Regions from separate parts of the Homo sapiens genome. Here all the other regions are linked to region 2. The links are contacts of gene promoters, found by promoter capture Hi-C in human tissues and cell types (Jung and others, 2019). All regions are on one chromosome and are shown on one strand. Each heading gives the region's core, a stretch centred on a gene start or on the middle of the fragment in contact. The rest is flanking DNA. Distances are from core to core; before and after follow the strand shown. Region 1 has its middle 7.9 kb from the start of STK25. Region 2 holds the start of SNED1 (sushi, nidogen and EGF like domains 1). Region 3 overlaps ING5 (inhibitor of growth family member 5). Region 4 overlaps DTYMK (deoxythymidylate kinase).

Region 1 (3,198 bases), core at 106-2,605, 520 kb after region 2:
CCTCACATGGCAGACAGAGAGCTCTCTGGTGTCTCTTTTCATGAGGGCCCGATCCTGTTGGATCAGGGATCCACCCTTATGAACTCATTTAACTTGCATTAACTCCTTGTAAGCTTTATCTCCAAATACATTGACGGTTAGGGCTTCAGCATATGAACTTTGGAGTAGAAGAGACACAAATGAGTCTGCAGCAGGAGATTCCAAAGGCTAGCATTCTGGAAGGAAAAGGTGCCAGTGCATGGCTTCGTAATGACCTGGCACAGTGCATGGCTTCGTAATGACCTGGCAGCTGGTTAGCACCACTTCCACCATCGTCATGGCTCACCCAGATTTAAGGGGGGAAAGCATGTAACTCACATTGTGAGACAAACATAGAGGAGGGAGGTAATGTTGAGGCCATCTTTGGAAAACACAAAGATGAGGGAATTATAGCTGTCACAGGCTCAGCAGTAATGTCTTAGGCTTAATAATGTAATTCCCATATGTTGATTTTTAACATTTATAATTATTCTCTATAGAACGTGAAGGTTTTCCACTTTAACCATGTAGAAGTAGAAGTAAGGAAGAAGATAGAAAAATGGCATCTAGAAGTAGGAGAAGAGAAAGGGAAACTGCACTTCAGTCTTAGTTCAGAAAATGTCAGAATCACTTTTAGTTTCAAGCCACCGAGAGCAAAGACAACAATATGAACTGCTGCCTGGCCACAAAAGCTAAGGTTTTTTTGGTGTGAGAAGAAAGCATAGGACACTTCGGTGGGTAAAGAATGTTTTAAAACTCCAAGTCTACGGGACGTTTACATATGTACCATATAATAATTAAGAGTGAGTACAGCAGGGCAAGGTGGCTCATGCCTGTAATTCCAACACTGGGAGGCCGAGGCGGGCGGATCATTTGAGGTCAGGAGTTTGAAACCAGCCTGACCAACATAGTGAAACCCCATCTCTACTAAAAATACAAAAAATTAGCTGGGTATGGTGGCACACGTCTGTGATGTGAGCTACTCAGGAGGCTGAGGCACAAGAATCACTTGAACCCAGGAGGCGGAGGTTGCAGTGAGCTGAGATTGTGTCATTGCACTCCAAACTGGGTGACAGAGCTAGACTACGTCTCGGGAAAAAAAAAAAAAATTAACTGGGCCTGGTGGCGGGCGCCTGTAGTCCCAGCTACTCCGGAAGCTGAAGCGGGAGAATCTTTTGAACCTGGGAGGTGGAGGTTGCAGTGAGCTGAGACTGTGCCACTGCACTCCAGCCTGGGTGACAGAGTGAGACTCCATCTCAAACAACAAACAAAAAAAGATACGTAGATTAATGAAATCAAATTCATTACCAGAAATAGACTTATGATCAATTGATTTTTTAAAAGTATGCCAAGACAATTCAGTTGGGAAATAATTACTTTATTTTAATTGTTTTGTTTTAGCTCTGTTCCAGCCAGTGAACAAAGGGGAAGAGTAATTTTTTCAACAAATGGTGCTGGGATCTTGCAGATACCTGAACATGTGCAAGCTGCTGGAGGGCAGCATGCCCAGGGAGGGCAGATAAGCTCTGTGCTCACACCCCCACAACACACACACAAACACACCCAACACACACACACACCCAACACACACACCCCCAGCACACACACCCCCAACACACGCACACCCCCAACACACGCACACAACACACACACACCCAACACACACCCCCAACACACACCCAACACACACACCCCAACACACACCCAACACACACACCCCAACACACACACATACCCAACACACACACTGAACACACACACAACACATACCCAACACACACACAACTCCAACACACACATACACATACCCAACACGCAACACACATGCACACCCCCAATACACACTCAACACACCCAACACAACACACCCAATACACACAACACACACCCAACACACACACACGCCCAACACATATACCCAACACACATCCCAACACATACACAACATACACACACACCCAACACAAACACACCCCCAACACACACACACCCCCAACAAACACACCCAACACACACCCCGAACACACACCCAACACACACACCCCAAACACACCCCCAACACACACACAAACACACCCAACACACACACACCCAACACACACCCCCAACACACACACCCCACCACACAACGTGCACACCCAACACACACACCCAACACACACCCCCAACACACACACACCCAACACACACACACCCAACACACACCCCCAACACACACACCCCAACACACACACACACCCAACACACATACACATACCCAACACGCAACACACACATGCACACCCCCAATACACACTCAACACACCCAACACAACACACCCAATACACAAAACACACACCCAACACACACAACACCAACACACACACCCCAACACACACATATACCCAACACACACACCTGACATATACACACACCCAACACACACACAAACATACACAACACACACATATACACCCCCAATACACACAACACACGCCCAACACACAAATACACAGCCCCAATACACACATGCCCAACACACACATATACCCAACACACATCCCAATACATACATAATGTACATACGCAACACCCAACACACACCCCAACACATACAACATACACATACCCAACACACACGAAACACACACAAAACACACACACACCAACACACAACACGTAGATACCTCAACACACACAATACACATACCCAACACACAACACGTAGACACCTCAACACACACACAACACACATACCCAACACACACACTAATACACTAATACACACAACACCCCACACCAACACACAAACATACACAACACATACACGTACACACACCCCAACACACAAACCCCAACACACACATCCAACACACACACACACAACTGGATATCCACATGCAAAAGAATGAAGTTAGACCCAATCAACTAAAAACGGATCATGAATTTGAATGTAAGCGCTAAAACTATAAAATAGCTTATTAGATATGACAAATGCACAAGAGACAAAATTTAAAAATAGATTAATTCAAATTCACCAAATTGAAAACTTGTATGCTTCAAAGGACACCATCAAGAAAGTGAAAAGGCAACCTACCAAATGGGAGAAAGTATCTGCAAATCATCTGTCTGATAAGGGACTTGTATCCAAGATATATATTTTAAAAAGTTCTTACAATGCAATAATAAAAATATAAATA
Region 2 (3,526 bases), core at 260-2,759:
TCTCCTTGCCAGGCTCTCACCGAGAGCCGGCCTCAAGTAGGGATTCTACAGTTCCACGCCCTCTCTGGTGCCTCCCTCCAAAGACAGGAGGCCTTGACCTTTCTGGCCCTGGAACCATGGCTGTGCTGCTGTCCTGGAGCTCTGAAAGCTGGGACGGTGACCTAAGGGCTAACTGCGGGACAGAGCCCTTCCCCTCCCAGGCCCAGTTTGCCTCTCTGCAAACAGAATTGCCACCCCATGCAGGGTGGGAGAGGCGCCAGGGGCAAGCTTTCAGGAGGTGCCAGTGCAGGGTCAGCTCCTCCTTAACAATTCTGCACCCGGCCCTGACACCAAGTCTAAAGGGTCATGAACCTCTGAGTGAAAACACCAAGTGCAGGATCTGTGAGAACCGGCAACACCCAGTCACACGCAGAGAACCCTCCGCTGCTTCTTAAAAATAACATTGACTGTGCCTGGCTCTCACTGAAAAACAACACGTGCTCACTTGAGATATTTCAGAAGATACAAACGCAAAGACAAACAAAAAACCACCCAGCACCTCAGTGGTAGATGCAGTTACCATCAGCCCGGCCTTTCCTGCTTGTCTTCGAGGGGTGCACTCTTATCTTTGGGGGCCCCAGTGTGGCACGCAGCCAACACCACCCAACACCAGGATCTAAGAGAAGAGACCACGGTGGGCCGGGTGAGTTCCAGGAATCAGACCCTGCCATGGGCCTGGGGACATAGAGGTGGTCCCGGCTGAGGCCCTGAGGAAGGACAGACAGGCAGCCCAGGCCAGCAGCCCAAGAGACAGGGGGCAGGGCTGGCAGGCCACAGGGTGGGGACCCTGAATTCAAATACTGGGACTCAGAGTCCTGCCCCCACCTGCCAAGGCCGGTGTCATGCACGCACTTGCCCCCAGGGCCTGAGTGGGTCAGTCTTCCCCACGGAGGGTTTGCTTTACCCAGGGGTCGCCCCGAGGTCCCGAGCCTCCCAGGAATTTCTCCTGATGCGGCCACGCAGATGCAAACACTTTGTTCCATGCCTCCTAGTCTCCGGCCCGGGCTCTTCCTCACACAGACCCAGGCAGGGAGTGGGCTCCGGGGTTAGTCTGCCCCTGTGGCTGGAAGCCTGGCGTCCCCATGCTCAGGGCTGGGAAGGGGGCAGCACGGAACGGGTTCATTCAGGCACTGCCTGGCCAGGGTCCCCTCCCGCCCCCCGCGTGATGACACGCCTTCAGGGCGGGCCCAGCGTCTCAGGCCTTAGGGACACAGGTCTGTCCCAGGACGGCACTGAGGGCCCAGGCGCCTCCACCAGGGTAGGGACCCAGGGCGGAGCATGGCCCCACCACAGGGCGCGCGCCCGCAGAGCCCTCACCTTGCCTGTGCCCACGCCAGGGGACTGAGCTCCCCGCGCGCCCGCGCCCTCCCACGGGGCCTGGCGCTTTAAGAGACGCCCGATTTGCATGGCCCCGCCCCCCCGAGTGACCGCCGGGCTGGATATTTAAATCGTGGCCCCAGGGGCGGGGCTGGCCCCGAACGCGGTCCCGCCCGGCGCTTTCCTCTGCGGAGCTGCGGCGAGAGCGCGGCCCGGCCGAACGGGCGCGGGACGCGGAGCCCCCGACGGCGCGGCCAGCGGGCGCGCCCGCGCTCCCCGCACCCCGCCTGGCCCTGCCGGCCACCCCCGCGCGCAGCCTAGTCCCCCAGCGCCCTGCTCCGCCAGCGCCCCGTCCCGCCCGCACACCTCCGCGATGCGGCACGGCGTCGCCTGGGCGCTGCTGGTGGCCGCGGCCCTGGGGCTTGGGGCGCGCGGGGTGCGCGGCGCGGTGGCCCTTGCCGACTTCTACCCGTTCGGCGCCGAGCGCGGCGACGCCGTCACCCCCAAGCAGGACGACGGCGGCTCGGGGCTGCGGCCGCTCTCGGTGCCCTTCCCGTTCTTCGGTGCCGAGCACTCCGGACTCTACGTGAGTAACCCCCGGGCTCGCGGGGCGCCCGGGAGGGGAGGGAGCTGCGCCCCGGCCGCTGCCCGCCGGGCCCGGACTCCCGCCGCCGCCGCCAGCCACTTGGCACCGGGGCGGCCCGAGGTGGAATGAGGACAGCGCTTCCTCCTCGGCGGCCAAGGCCGGACAGCGGCCCGCGGGAGAGGCGCGCGGGCGGGGCGGGGGCGGCAGCCGCCGGGCACCGAGGCGGGGGCGAGTGGAGCGCGGCGCCCCGGCCCCTGCCAGACCTGCCGAGCGCGTCTTCCCGGCGCCTGATTCCCAGGGGAGAGCAGGGGTCCTGGTACTGCCCTGGTTTTCACACATGGCAATGTGGCCGTGGGCACGGGCTTCCCGGGCCTCAGTTTCCCAAGTGGGGCGCCGGGCCTGCGAAGGTTGCAGCCCCTCCTTGGGCCATTTCAGCCCCGCCCCCCGTGGACGCCAGTGCGGCCCAGAGCCAGGAGGCTGGACCCCTTGCCCAGGCGCTCAGGGCAGGGCCTGCTTCTTCGCTGACCCTCCTAGGCGGGCTAGCAACAGGCTTGCCCCTCCCTGCCGTCCTCTCCGCAGTCTGGGGGCTGGCCGCTCAGGCTCAGACTCTCCAAACAGGACTCCCAGTGGGACTCCTGGGGCCAGGGACTCATGACAGCAGGCTCAGCTCAGCTGAAGGAACAGGCCCGAGTGCCGGTTCTGTCTCCATGGCTCCCAGAGTGTGACCCCAGGCCAAGCCCTTATGGCAGCCCAGGGAATGAAATGCACCTGGTAACTGCATGGAGCACTCGCCCTGAGTAGGCCACGGTGCACTGGTACCTGGTGGTTCCCTGAAACACCCCAGATCATATCTAGAAAACTGCTGGGCCAGCCTCAAGTAGAGTCCCCTCCAGCTCCGTCACCACGGCCACCTCCACCATCAGCCCTCTCATACCCTCGCCCACCTCCAGCCTCAACCCACTGCCAGCCACATCGCCTCTGCCATCTGTGCTGCCCGGAGTAACACCACCTGTACTGCCAACTCCTCCGTCAACACCACCTCCTTCAACCCCACCACCAGCAGCACTGCCTCCACCACCACCTTCCCCATGGTCCCCAGCTTCCCGTCGTCACCATCCACATCCTCTGCATGGTTGTCATCATCCCTCCCCACCTCCATCCACAGGGCCTCCTCCACCACATGCCCTCTAGTGCGCCTCCCACCCCACAACTGCCAACACCATCCACAGCGCCCACTGCGTTTTCCACACCTGCTCAGGAAGGCCTCCCCACCTCGGTGGCAGCACTGGGTGACCTGACTGGTGGGAGGGGCAGCCATGCTGTCGGTGCTACCCCCTGAAAGTCCCTCTGGACCGGGACTTGGACAGAGGAACGGGACTGACTCCTGGAAGTACGAAGTGGGTAGGACAGAATGGTGCTCAGCGTTGGCCCGAGCTGGAGGAGGCCTGTCCACTTGAGGTATGGGACACTCACATTGGCACCATCCGAACAGAACTCAAGAGGCTCCTTAAGCATTTGGGCCAGGCTCAGCTTTCCCACTCACAGTCACAGGTGAAAATATTATTAAAATGGTTAACCCACTTA
Region 3 (3,658 bases), core at 162-2,661, 720 kb after region 2:
TTTCTAATTTTAATTTTTTAGTTGACTTCTGTTGTGGTCAAAGAACATTACATAATTGAAATCCTTTGAAAGCCAGCTAATTTTTGTATTTTTAACAGAGACAGGATTTCACCATGCTGGGCAGGCTGGTCTCGAACTCCTGACCTCAAATGATCTGCCCACCTTGGCCTCCCCTCCCTGTAAAGTGCTGGGATTACAGGCATGAGCCACCGCACCCGGCCTTCATTGCAATATTTGGTCTGTTCATATTTAACATAATTAATGATATGGTGGGATTTAGGTTCACCATCTTGCTATTAGTTTTCTGTTTGTTCCTTCTGCTCCTTTGCTGTCTTCTTTTGGACTAATCAGGTATTTTTTAGTATTCCGTTTTTTTCCCCACTCTTGTCTTATTAGCCATGCTTTTTTTTTTTTTTTTTTTTTTGAGACGGAGTCTTGCACTGTTGCCCAGGCTGGAGTACAATTTGCAATGGCATGATCTTGGCTCACTACAACCTCTGCTTCCCAGGTTCAAGCGATTCTCATGCCTCAGCCTCCGCAGTAGCTGGGATTATAGGTGTGCGCCACCACACCCGGCTAATGTTTTTGTATTTTTAGTAGAGACAGGTTTTCACCATTTTGGCCAGGCTGGTCTCGAACCCCTGACCCCAAGTGATCCACCCACCTCGGCCTCCCAAAGTGCTAGGATTACAGGCGTGAGCCACTGCCCCGGCCCCTGTATTTTAAGGATTGTTCTAGTGTGTGCACTCAGTTTCCTTAAGTTATCACAGTGAGCTTCAGATATTACACTATTTGATGTTTAACGTGTGGCTCCACACAAGTGTTCTTCCATTTCCTGCCTTTGTGCTGTTGTCCTTCACTTTGCCTGTGATCTGAGCTTCCCAGCACGTTATTACCTTAGATGCAAACCACTGATGACGTGAAACACGCCTTAAAATATATGTGGAATGTAAAGATGTTGAACTCACAGAAGTAGAGAGTAGAATGGTGGTCAGGCGCTGGGGTGGTCAGGGGAGACGTTGGATACAGAATTTCATTTAGATAGGAGGAATAAGTTCAAAAGATCCGTTTTACAACATGGTGACTACAGTTAATAACAATATAGTCTCAAAAAAATGTGTAGATTTTAAGTGTTCTCACCACAAAAGTCACCCCATATATAGTTACCTCATATAGTTGCCATTTCTGGTAACCTTCATTTTTTTTTTTTTTTGAGACAGAGTCTTGCTCTGTGTCCCAGGCTGGAGTGCAGTGGTGCGATCTCAGCTCACGGCAACCTCTGCCTCCCAGGTTCAAGTGATTCTTGTGCCTCAGCCTCCTGAGTAGCTGAGATTACACCCACCTACTCACCTGGTTAATTTTTGTATTTTTAGTAGAGATGGGGTTTTGCCATGTTGGCCAGGCTGGTCTCGAACTCCTGGCCTCCAGTGACCCTCTCGCCTCAGCCTCCCAAAGTGGCAGGATGACAGGCATGAGCCACCGCGCCTGGCCCAACTATTATTTCTTAATATTTATTTTCTTTCTTTAAAAATTTTTTTTCCATACATATTCTGCTTACGTATATTTCTTTATGTGGATGCAAATTTCTGTCTTGTCATTTCTCCTCTACTGAAGAACTTTAACATTTTTTGCAGTACATGTATGCTGATGGTGATGAATTCTCTGTTTTTGTTTCTCTGAAAATGCTTTTATTTCACTGCGTATAGAATTTTAGGTTGACCTTTTTTCTTTTATCGCTAAAGATGTTCTCTCATTTTCTTCTGTCTTTCATTGATTCTGATGATAAATTACTGATAATAATTATTTTTGGTGGTTTCTTTTTTTTTTTTTGCTTTTAAGATTTCTCATTGTCACTGGCTCTTAACAGTTTGGTTATGATGTGTATTGGTGTGATTTTTTTGTGTATATTTTGCGTGGAACTTGTTGAGCATCTTTGAACTGTTGGTTTATACTTTGCATCGAATTTGGAAAATTTTCAGACAGTTCTTCCAGTATTTTTGTGCTCTCCTTTCTCCTCTTCCTGCTGTCCAGCTCCCTGTGCGTTCCTTAGCTTAGATTTTCTCACAGCTCACCGAGGCTCTGCTTACTTTCTGCAAGCTTTTTTCTTTCTGTACTTCAGTTTGATTTGTTTCTATTACTTTATTTATTTATGAGACAGGTTCAGGCTCTGTGGCCCAGGCTGGAGTGCGGTGGCGCAATCTCCGCTCACCGCAGCCTCTGCCTCCCGGGTTCAAGCCATTCTCCCGCCTCAGCCTTCCAAGTAGCTGGGATTACAGGTGAGCGTCACCACACCCGGCTAAGTTTTGTATTTTTAGTAGAGTCGGGGTTTCAGCCTGTTGGCCAGGCTGGTTTCAAACTCCTGGCCTCAAGTGATCCGCCCAGCTCAGCCTCTCACCTTCCCTTTCCTTCTTTCTTTCCTTCCTTCCTTTCTTCTTTCCTCCCTTCCTCCCTCCCTCCCTCACTTCCTTCCTCCTTCCCTCCCTCCCTCCCTTCCTCCCTCCCTCCCTTCCTTCCTTCCTTCCTTCTTTTCTCTTTCTGTCTTTTTTTTTTTTTTTTTGAGACGGTCTTGCTTGGTCACCCAGGCTGGAGTGCACTGGTACAATCTTGGCTCACTGCAAGCTCCGCCTCCCAAGTTCAAGCGATTCTCTGCCTCAGCCTCCCAAGTAGCTGGAATTACAGGCACGTGCCACCATGACTGGCTAATTTTGTATTTTTAGTATAGACAGGGTTTCACCGTGTTATGCAGGCTGGTCTCGAACTCCTGGCCTCAGGTGGATCTGCCTGTTTTTGGCCTCCCGATGTGCTGGGATTACAGGCGTGAGCTGCTGTGCCCGGCCCTAAGTTAGTTTTAATCTCCTTTAATACATTTTTCATTTAAGAGATTGTAGGGCTGGGTGCTTTGGCTCATGCCTGTAATCTCAGCACTTTGGAAGGCTGAGGTGGGAGGGTCACTTGAGTAGCCGGGATCACAGGCATGTGCCACCATTCCTTGGTAACCAGCTTTTAAAAAAACATAATCAGTCCTATTTCCCTGCTGAGGGTACATGTCTCATGATTTATTAGCTGTCTGACTTTAGATATAAAGGAAGCGTGGAGAGGGAAATTTCTGTTCTCCCCAGGAGGTGTTCGTTCTGTTTTAGTCCAGGCCAATAGGGCTGGGGGCCTGGGGCGGGGCAGGGTCTCAGCTTCAGCTCCACCGAGGCCCCTTGAGGACCTTGAGGTTTCCTCTCTCGCCTCCTGCCCCAGCGGCTTCCACAGTTGGTAGAAGTGCGGGGGAGGAGACCAGCGGTGCCCGAGCAGACCCCTTGCTCGAGAACTCCGAGGTTGCAGGGATTTTCCCTCTGCTTTTAGTTGCTCTGTGCAGCCTCTGGACTATAAATGTCGGTGGGGACGCGGCCGCCATGTGTGGCTGTGTGGGCTCAGCGTGGCCCAGTGGCCAGCCCAGCCCTCACTCAGTGCATGAGGCAGGCGGACGCCGCCCCCAACCCCCCAACACCCCCCACTCTGGCTGCAGGTCATCTAGCTCTTGTTGCTCCACAGCTCCCCGACATCTTTGAGAATGTGGTTTTTGTGACTTGCTGGGTTTTGTGTTTTCTAACTCAGTGGCAACAGCGTTCTGAGTCTTCCTGCTCCTTCCTGCTCGGAACCTGAAGGCCCT
Region 4 (3,724 bases), core at 97-2,596, 680 kb after region 2:
ACGCTCCCCGCTTGGCAGCATCCGCCAGCTGTAACTGGAGGAACAGGACCAGGTCGGGTTTGGGAAGGCCCACGTCTGGCTGTTTACACCAATCTAGGGAAAAATTCTGCCAAGAAAGAACCCAACAGTTAAAGCTTAGTGTAGTCTAGGTTTTTGTTTCGAAAGTCGTAAAAACAGGAAAAAATGAGGGGACATTTGGTGAGGTACCAAGATGTGAGACTGTTTATATTGTGGCTCGTTTAATTTTTAGAACCTCAAACGTGTCGGTTTCTCCAGTGTCACCTTTGTTTTTCCTTTGTAAACAGACAAGTGGACAGAAAAGTAGGTAGATAGAACGGCTGCCAGTCCCCGCCACCCACAGCCCAGGCCCCATGGAGGCCCTCCCAGCACAGCTACAGGCCTGCTGGCCAGGAGCAAACAGTCTATGTACAGAACCCCTGGAGACCCCCGGCCTAGAACGCCTGCAGCACAGAGCAGCTGGGTCCGGACACAGGCACGAGGTCCTTGGCAGTGTCTTTTCTGCCACACACACGCCAGGGTCTCCTCTCCCGTGGAAGAGCAGGAAGAAGACAGGCACTCCTAGAGCCTGTTATGTGCCAGCCTAGTCTCATCCACTGGCCCTTCTTGCCAGGGCTGTGCCAGCACCCTCTCTCCCTCCCTTACTCATCCCATCTCCCTCCAAATGCTGTCCTGTTTCCGGAGGAAAGGTAGGACCAGAAAGGCTGTGACTGCAGGCCACACATCACACAACAGCACAATGAGCTGAGGGAAGGCGTCCACGAGAACCTCCCACAGAGCCTGCGGCTCTGTCAGCTGATCCGCACAGCAGGAAGAAGCAAAGGAATCATGAGTCTTGTCCTCCTTATTATACAACGTAATACTTCAGAGGGGAAGGACTCAAGCTAACACATGAAGAAATGGCAGAATTAAAAAGTGAGGGCGTGGCCGGGCACGGTGGCTCGCGCCTGTAATCCCAGCACTTTGGGAGGCTGAAGCGGGAGGATCACTTGGGCCCAAGAGTTGTTATAGCGAGCTTTGCTTGTTCCACTGTACTCCAGCCTGGGCAACAGAGGGAGACGCCCTCTTTCAAAAAACGGGGGAAAAAAGTACTACAAATGAACCATCTTTGAAAATGCATCTGGAGGCTGGGTGCAGTGGCTCATGCCTGTAATCCTAGCACTTTGGGAGGCTGAGATGAGTGGATCACTTGAGGTCAGGAGTTTGAGACCAGCCTGGCCAACATGGTAAAACCCCGTCTCTACTAAAAGTATGAAAATTAGCTGGGCACGGTGGTGCATGCCTATAATCCCAGATACTCGGGAGACTGAGGCAGGATAATCGCTTGAACTCAGGAGGCAGAGGTTGCAATGAGCTGAGATCGTGCCACTGCACTCCAGCCTGGGTGACAGAATGAGAGACTGTCTCCCCAAAAAAAAAAAAAAAAGCGTGTGGAAAATATAATCCAAATACCAACTATGGTTCTATCTGTGAAACAATCTCTAGCTACATAAATGTTTGCTCTTCTTATTGATAAAACCAAATTAATCTAGCAAAGAGATAAAAGGAATATAAGAATCACGAAACTCTGCAGAGTAATCTGAGGCATGTCACTCGTACTCGCATTCAAGGGCAGTCCTGGGTCCACACATCTGTGCTCGCCTGACAGGAGGCCAAGTGGCACTCACCTCCTTGGCACCGGTGAAGGCCACACCAGAAAATGCGTATCTGTCCACGACGAGGGTCACGCCCTGGCTCAACTTTTCCTTAATTAACGGCCTGAAAAAGAGGATGCTCCTGAGCCCTGGTCCTGTTTCATAGGCCTTGAACTGTCAAGCTTAAATTATCCCAACAGGCTGTGCGCAGTGGCTCACCCCTATAATCCCAGCGCTTTGGGAGGCTGAGGCGGGCGGATCACAAGGTCAGGAGATCGAGACCATCCTGGCTAACATGGTGAAACCCTGTCTCTACTAATACAAAATATTAGCTGGACATGGTGGCAGGCACCTGTAATCCCAGCTACTCGGGAGGCTGAGGCAGGAGAATTGCTTGAACCCAGGAGGTGGAGGTTGCAGTGAGCCGAGATCACACCACTGCATTCCAGCCTGGGTGACACAGCGAGACTCCATCTCAAAAAAAGAAAAAGAAAATTATCCCAACAATACAACTCAGAAATCTCATATGACAACAAGTACAGCACAGTGATTTGTAACCTTACTTTTAATCCAAAAAGGTCTGGATCTTCTCTAGAAGATGCCATACCCACACCTCCAGCAAAACCCAACATGGAGAAGATAACCTTACTAAATAGTAACAAACACAACTGGTAAAGTTCAATGTTCCAGAAACACGGCAGGGGAAAGGAGATGCACTGTCAGCTGTCTTGGTCAGAGAGGCCAGCTCTACCCTGTCGAGGAAGAAGAAAGCACAGGCAAAGAAGAGAGCAGAGGATGGTGGCGGGGGAAGCGTGGGCACAGCCAGCAGGTGACTCATCCATGCTCATGACCCCTAGCCTGGACTGCAAGGATGTTCTCAGCCAAATACCACAAGTCCACCATCATCCCTACAGCTGCCAAGATCACAGATGTACAAAGACACGGGGCCTGACACTAGTGAGAAGCACTGCTCAAGACAGAGAAAGAAAAGTCCGATTCATTCGACTCAGCCAGTCTCACTGGGGCCTTCAAATCACAGGGGCACCCACATAAGGAGTCAACTGGCCTCTGACAAAGCAGCAGAGGGATGCAATGGTGCAAAGGCATTTTCCTCAATAAACGCTGCTGGAACAACTGGACATCCTCATGAAAGAGAATAAATCTAGACCAGACCGTATACCCTCCACGAACATAAATTCAAAATGAATCACAGGCCTGGCACGGTGGCTCACGCCTGTAATCCCAGCTTTCAAGGAGGCAGAGGCAGGAGGATTGCTTGAGCCCAGGAGCTCGAGACCTGCCTGGGCAATATAGTGAGACCCCGTTCTCCACAAAAAGTGGGGGAAAAAAAAGACAAAATGAATCACAGACCCAAATGTAAAATGCAAAACTATGCAACTCCTAGACAGTAACACAGGAGAAAACTTAGATCACCTGGGGTTTGGCAGACTGTTTAGATACAAAACCAAAGGCACAGCCCATGAGAGAATTGATTAAGATGGACTTCACGAAAATAATAACTTTGTGCTTTGTGAGAGACACTGTCAAGAGAAGGAAAGGACAGCCGGACGTGGTGGCTCATGCCTGTGAGCCCAGCACTTTTGGAAGCCATTTGGCGGGATGGATCCCTTGAGGCCAGGTGTTTGAGACCAGCCTGAGTAACAATAGTGAGACCCCATCTCTACAAAAAATGTAAAAATTAGCCAGGGATAGTGGCACGCACCTGTAGTCCTAGCTACTCCAGAGGCTGAGGCAGGAGGATCACTTGAACCCAGGAGTTTAAGGCTGCAGTAAGCTGTGATCATGCCACAACATTCCAGCCTGGGCAACAGAGCAAGACATTTCTCCTAAAAAAAAATAAGGCCAGGCAGGGTGGCTCATGCCTCTAATCACAGCACTTTGGGAAACCAAGGCAGGAGGACTGCTTGGGTCCAGGAGTTCAAGACCAGCCTGGGCAACAATAGTGAGACTCCATCGCTACAAAAAATTTTACAAAAATTAGCCAGGTGTGTTAACGTGCCTATAGTTGCAGCTACTTGGGAGGCTGAGGTGGGAAGATCACTTGAACCCGG

What was found. The method cuts DNA at HindIII sites, captures the fragments that hold promoters and counts their contacts. A contact is called where the count stands out against the background at its distance.
Region 1: a contact is called between a fragment that was not itself captured here and the fragment with the promoter of SNED1 in region 2, in 1 of the 25 tissues and cell types used here (H1 embryonic stem cells).
Region 3: a contact is called between a fragment that was not itself captured here and the fragment with the promoter of SNED1 in region 2, in 1 of the 25 tissues and cell types used here (lymphoblastoid cells).
Region 4: a contact is called between a fragment that was not itself captured here and the fragment with the promoter of SNED1 in region 2, in 1 of the 25 tissues and cell types used here (dorsolateral prefrontal cortex).

The regions. Positions count from the first base shown.
Region 1 is chr2:241,514,861-241,518,058 of GRCh38, forward strand. No RefSeq gene overlaps it. Among named protein-coding and RNA genes, the nearest start is that of STK25, 7.9 kb to the left of the region's middle. The HindIII fragment of the contact is 7,266 bases long and covers 1-3,198 here.
Region 2 is chr2:240,997,109-241,000,634 of GRCh38, forward strand. SNED1 (sushi, nidogen and EGF like domains 1) reads left to right here and starts at 1,510. Exons shown (of 32, transcript NM_001080437.3): 1 at 1,510-1,942. The coding sequence starts at 1,730. RefSeq lists a silencer at 1,142-1,561. The HindIII fragment of the contact is 20,006 bases long and covers 1-3,526 here.
Region 3 is chr2:241,715,880-241,719,537 of GRCh38, forward strand. All of the region lies in intron 5 of ING5 (inhibitor of growth family member 5), which reads left to right. Among named protein-coding and RNA genes, the nearest start is that of ING5, 16 kb to the left of the region's middle. The HindIII fragment of the contact is 9,714 bases long and covers 1-3,658 here.
Region 4 is chr2:241,678,544-241,682,267 of GRCh38, forward strand. It overlaps DTYMK (deoxythymidylate kinase), which reads right to left. Exons shown (of 5, transcript NM_012145.4): 3 at 1,686-1,776; 4 at 1-106. Among named protein-coding and RNA genes, the nearest start is that of DTYMK, 6.4 kb to the right of the region's middle. The HindIII fragment of the contact is 3,955 bases long and covers 1-3,324 here.